2 separate regions of the Homo sapiens genome follow, and region 1 is linked to region 2. The links are contacts of gene promoters, found by promoter capture Hi-C in human tissues and cell types (Jung and others, 2019). All regions are on one chromosome and are shown on one strand. Each heading gives the region's core, a stretch centred on a gene start or on the middle of the fragment in contact. The rest is flanking DNA. Distances are from core to core; before and after follow the strand shown.

The links. The method cuts DNA at HindIII sites, captures the fragments that hold promoters and counts their contacts. A contact is called where the count stands out against the background at its distance.
Region 1: a contact is called between a fragment that was not itself captured here and the fragment with the promoter of KLB in region 2, in 1 of the 25 tissues and cell types used here (thymus).

Annotation. Positions count from the first base shown.
Region 1 is chr4:39,872,888-39,876,131 of GRCh38, forward strand. PDS5A (PDS5 cohesin associated factor A) reads right to left here. Exons shown (of 33, transcript NM_001100399.2): 20 at 1,402-1,525; 21 at 99-257. Among named protein-coding and RNA genes, the nearest start is that of PDS5A, 100 kb to the right of the region's middle. The HindIII fragment of the contact is 9,111 bases long and covers 1-3,244 here.
Region 2 is chr4:39,405,558-39,408,762 of GRCh38, forward strand. It overlaps KLB (klotho beta), which reads left to right and starts at 1,373. Exons shown (of 5, transcript NM_175737.4): 1 at 1,373-2,217. The coding sequence starts at 1,393. The HindIII fragment of the contact is 19,436 bases long and covers 1-2,206 here.

The DNA.
Region 1 (3,244 bases), core at 436-2,935, 470 kb after region 2:
AGAAAAAGAGAATTACACAGAAACAGAAGTGTTTCTGTGATGAAGATGTAAACAGCCTTAATCTCATGATTCTCAATTTAATTAAATGAGAAACTTACCCTGTCATTCATTAGCAGATCTTTCACAATAAAATTTGCTACTACAGATTTCATTGGGGAAGCAAACTGATCTGGTGCTAACATAGAAATGTGGCCCAATGAAACTAATGGAGTTATAAGTTGTTCTGGCACATCAGCATTCAGACTCCTACTGAGTGGCTATAAAAATAAAACAGACAAAATTACCAATTTGTTTGATAAATATCTAGACACTCTACTGAAACAGTACATTTTCCTGAGTCCTCCTGAATTTACCATGCCCAAACCAATCTTCTCTAATACGATCATAACTAACTTCAACCATGTTAAGACACCTGGTTCTTAATTCACCTACTAAAATTTAGCAAGATTGAAAGAATGTAGAAAAAAGATAAAAGAAAAAATAAAATCCAACAAAAAGAAGTTTAAAGAAAAACATTTTTGCTTCATCAAATCAGCATTATTTTTGACTAATCTACAACAATGGATTTGCTATACCAGTGGTTTTCTTACCCTGTGGAAGCATTTTAAATGACCTTAAATCATACAAAGTAAGAGTTCACTGGGTTTTGGTCACACTATCTCCAATTTATGATAATAGGAATACATTTCTAATAGTAAAATGAGGCCAGTCATTATATGTAAAAAAAAGGGAAACAGGATTAATTTTCAGGTAGGGTTCTTAGGTACTTTAAACTGGATTGTTCAAAATTATCTACTAATACTTTCCGAGGATAAATGCACCACTGAACCAATAAGGCTAAAATTAAGTAAAATGTTCTAACATAAACACATAAGGCTAGGTGTGGTGGCTCATGTGTGTAATCCTAGCACTTTGAAAGACTGAAGTGGGTGGATCGCTTCAGTCCAGGAGTTTGAGACCAGCCTGGGCAACATGGCAAAACCCCATCTCTATAAAAAAATCCAAAAATTAGCTAGGCATGGTGGTGGTGCCTGTACTCTCAGCTACTTGGGAGGCTGAGGCAGAAGGACTGCTTGAACCTAGGAATTCGGGGCTGCAGTGAGCAGAGATTGCATCACTGTACTCCAGCACTGGTGAGAAAGTGAAACTTTATCTCAAAAACAAACTAAAAAACAAAAACCACAAAACCCTTCAATATGAGGTGTTTGAACATATAATCTGATCTACAGGCTGGGAATGCAGTACCACATAAAATAGACAGAATCCTTGCTCACAAGGAATTTATAGTCTAAGGTAGGACTTCATATAAACAGCTTTAAAAAATCTAGCTTCCATCTTCATCAAACTATAGAGCTTAAAAAATAAAGACCAATATAAACACAACCTATATATTAGATATACCTCAAAAATCTGTGCAAGCTGGACTTCTTTATTTGTGAATATGGCGTGTATACAGTGCACAGCCTGTTTTGCTTGGTGTGGAGTACCCCTCTTTGCTTTTTGATGTAAAATGGGAATTAAGGTCCTGCAAAAAATAATATAGTTGTTTTTTTTTCTTAAACCCATAAACCAACAAGTATTCCTTTGGTTGACTTCCACTTCCCCTATATGGATGGATGCTAGTAGAGAAGGCTCTCTTAAAAATTATCTGATCTAAAGAAAGTTGTAAAAAAGCTCCATCTCTGCCCCCAAGTATAAACCAAGAAATACAATGCCTCAAGAAAAAGCCTACTTCAGGAGACAATTTTTATTTTAAAGTTACCTCACAAATATGCAAAATAACAAGCAACCCTTAATTCATAATCTAAAGCTTACCCCATGACATATTTTTGCATTTACCTTCTAAGTAGCAATATTGCTAATTTTTCAATTCCCTTTTATAATCCCCTTCAGTTATTTCAAAGTAGCTACAGAAAGAGAGTAGCAAAAGGCCAAGTTGTATTAAACAGCTGAAATAATACTAGTGAAAGAAAGTATGCAAAGATACAGCTACATATATATCAGTAGAATGGCAATAAAAATATCTAACTATTATGTGCCAGGCACCATTCTAGGTATTTCCGCATGGATTAATTCAACTAATGTTCACATCCACCCAAAGAAGACTATCATAGTCATTACACAGATGAGAAAATTAAAGCACAAAGATGTTATTTAAGCCTCCTAAGATGACGAAGCTAGGAAACTGGGAGTTGGGATTTGAAAATTAGCATTTCTTTCAAAATCCACATACTTAACCTCTACACTGACAATGAAGAGTAAACTAAAACAGTCTTCTTTTAGGATGACAGAAAAACATAAAGCATTCTTCAAAAATTAAATGTTGATGACATGAAAAAGCATTAGGTAGAATGAAGAAAATAGTGTGCATATATGAACTTATAAAAAATAGACAAACACATCTAGTAGATGAACATTCATAGAAAGTATATATATCAAATGTTAATGGTGACTATTTCGTTATATTTTTTCTAGTTTCAGTTTGCTACAATGAACGTAAGTATTTTTATAATCAGAATAAAATTGATAAAACGAAACAAACATTTAAGGAAAGATATTTGTCATATATTTAATGTTATTAGAGAAGAGCCTATTTTATAAAGTTAGTGGCATCAAATGCAAGGGTGACAATGCCCTCTTATGATAATGGAAGGCTACATATGAAACCTATACTGCAGGCTCCAGGCCATGCACTTTAACCAAAAATGGGAACATATGCTAGTTGGTATGAATCTGATTTGACATGTATAAATATGCCTGAAGTTTGCCTCTATGGACTTTGGAATTATGAGATAGGGATGTCCATGACCAAACAGACTTCCTTGACTGAGTATTGACTATGCTTCTAAATGGAAGATGTCTTTCCTCTCTCCTATCTGTTTAGTCTTTCACCATTCCATTTACCAGACTGAGATTTCTTATAACACTGGTGAATGACAAAGGAAGATAGTTTCAATCAAACTGTTGTTAAATGTATTATTATTATTAGCCAAATAAAATAATACAGAAAGTCAACTTTAACCTTTCTTCTTGTTTTTTCTAGAGCAGTATAATCTAGTGATGCCATCAGAGTTGTTATTGAGGTCTTTAGCATTGTGCTTTTCTGCTTTCCAGTGATTATCTCCTTTCTTCTCCATTGGTCTTATGAATAAGGTATTTTATTCCTCACATCCAAAGTTAACTCTTCCACCTATGCTCATTTTCAACTGTGTCCTTTGGGGTAGAATTCCTCTAAGAATAGTTT
Region 2 (3,205 bases), core at 123-2,622:
TAAATATTGCCTATTCTTCAAGGGAACTTTCATAATAATTTTCTCTTTTTTTTTTTTTTTTTATTTTGAGACCGAGTCTTGCTCTGTTGCCCAGGCTGGAGTGCGGTGGTGCGATCTCAGCTCACTACAACCTCCACGTCCCAGGTTCAAGAGATTCTCCTGCCTCAGCCTCCCAGGTAGCTGGGATTACAGGTGCCCACCACCGTGCCCAGCTAATTGTATTTTTAATAGAGACGGGGTTTCAACATGTTGGCTAGGCTGGTCTCAAACTCCTGACCCCAAGTGATCTGCCTGCCTTGGCCTCCCAAAGTGGTGGGATTATAGCCATGAATCACTGTGCCTGGCCTTTCGTAATAATTTTCTTGAACTAAAATTTGGGATTAGGCCAGGCATGGTGGCTCACACCTATAATCCCAAGCACTTTAGGAGGCCGAGGCAGAAGGGCTGTTTGAGCCCAGGAGTTCAGGACCAGCCTGGGGGACATAGCTAGACCCCACCTCTACCAAAAAATCAAAAATCAGCTGGGCATGGTGGCATGTGCCTGTTGTCCCAGCTACTTGGAGGCTGAGGAGGGAGGATTGCTTAAGCCTGGGAAGTTGAGGCTGCGGTGAGCTGTGATGACACCACTGCACTCCAGCCTAGGCTACAAAGCAAGACTCTTATTAAAAATTAATTAATTAATTAAAAAATTAGAGATTAGAGAATTTTAGTTAAGTTAAATAAATAAAATAAAAAATAAAATTAGAGATTAGAGGATTTTAGTTAAGTTAAATGTATTAAATTGAAAAGTATTTCATTTTTCCATCCACAAAGTGCTATATTTTCTCATTCAAGTCTTCTCTCAAATCTACCAATACATTTTTGCAATTTTCCTAAAATAGGTAACATTTATTAAGATTGTTCTTAGATGCGTTATAATTTTGTGGAGAAGTGTAATTTCTTATTGTGTTTTCTAATTCTTTACTATTGGTATGTAGGAATGCTATATACTTGTATATGTTATTTTTCTTGATATATGAGATTATAAAATTACCACACAAAAACTCTAAAAATAGAAAAGCTATATACCTTATTCAATAATGTTCAAAACATTCAGAAAAGATTTGGGTCAATATGAAAGGCTACACGGAAAATAATGTGATTTTAATCCAGTGTTTACATATGTGTTAGTTACACATTCAAACTCTTGTCACCGATGCATTTTCATCTAATTTTTTCCATAATGAGAGAGAAGGAGACGCGTTGGTGACTGCAATAGGGCCACCTCCCTCAAATTACGTTGCTCTCTATGACCCATCCTCAGTCTCCCAGTTCAAGCTAATCATTGACAGAGCTTTACAATCACAAGCTTTTACTGAAGCTTTGATAAGACAGTCCAGCAGTTGGTGGCAAATGAAGCCAGGCTGTGCGGCAGGATCTCCAGGGAATGAATGGATTTTCTTCAGCACTGATGAAATAACCACACGCTATAGGAATACAATGTCCAACGGGGGATTGCAAAGATCTGTCATCCTGTCAGCACTTATTCTGCTACGAGCTGTTACTGGATTCTCTGGAGATGGAAGAGCTATATGGTCTAAAAATCCTAATTTTACTCCGGTAAATGAAAGTCAGCTGTTTCTCTATGACACTTTCCCTAAAAACTTTTTCTGGGGTATTGGGACTGGAGCATTGCAAGTGGAAGGGAGTTGGAAGAAGGATGGAAAAGGACCTTCTATATGGGATCATTTCATCCACACACACCTTAAAAATGTCAGCAGCACGAATGGTTCCAGTGACAGTTATATTTTTCTGGAAAAAGACTTATCAGCCCTGGATTTTATAGGAGTTTCTTTTTATCAATTTTCAATTTCCTGGCCAAGGCTTTTCCCCGATGGAATAGTAACAGTTGCCAACGCAAAAGGTCTGCAGTACTACAGTACTCTTCTGGACGCTCTAGTGCTTAGAAACATTGAACCTATAGTTACTTTATACCACTGGGATTTGCCTTTGGCACTACAAGAAAAATATGGGGGGTGGAAAAATGATACCATAATAGATATCTTCAATGACTATGCCACATACTGTTTCCAGATGTTTGGGGACCGTGTCAAATATTGGATTACAATTCACAACCCATATCTAGTGGCTTGGCATGGGTATGGGACAGGTATGCATGCCCCTGGAGAGAAGGGAAATTTAGCAGCTGTCTACACTGTGGGACACAACTTGATCAAGGTACTGTACAGCTAGCTTCTTCTTATAGCTTCAGAAAACACTAAGAATTTAAGAATTTACCTTCTGCCTCAGTAATTCTCTTCACTGAAATCAAGGCAACTGATTTTAAGCTAATTCAAAAGATCTATCCTCAAATTTTGCATTTAAGTTAGTGTATGTTTTATTTATCTAAGGTATTTTTAATGTATTAATCCAATTAGTTTTTTCAAAAGTTGCACTTTGAGGCTATTTTTAAATCTACCATTATACACTACAGTGTGAATATATGAGCTTACTTTCATTCTGTGGGAAAACAGTGCTTCATAAATTTAATTGTTGGAACCCTTTTCTGACAACATGCAATCATTTCAGAATTATCTTAAGGCACAACCATTTCAAATATGTATTTGTTGTTAAGTATAGCTAACTTAGCTAATAAGTAAATAAAGTAAGTAAATAAGTAAGCCAAATAAATGTTAGCTAACTCATGCATATTAAATACAGAAATTTAAATATACTTCACTTTTGATTTTATTTGTGTTACATAGCAAAAAAGAGAAGATTAATTGTTATGGGAGCTAAACACATTTCTTCCCATAAGAACTGGGAAGAATGTGCTCTACTAAAGCAATTTTCAAGCAATATATTTCAAAAGCTAGAGATAATGTTGAGAAATGTTAAAATTAGTAAAACAATAGTGAAAATACAAGCAAAATAATAGGTAATAATTACTGAGTACTTATTATGTACCACAGACTACATTAAGTATTTTACATGCATCGTTACAGTTGATCCTCTTAACAGCCTTTTGAACTAGTTTTATTATTCTTCCCATTTAAAAGATGAGGAAACTGAAGCTTAATGAGATTAAATAATTTTCCCAAGGTTAAGGAGTAAAATACAGCTGTTGTGGACATGGATTTTTTAAATGACAACATAATTAACACTAACTGTCTTCATTAAGAATGCTTTGAAAAGAAGACTCAGGAATTTGCAAGAGATTTAGCCT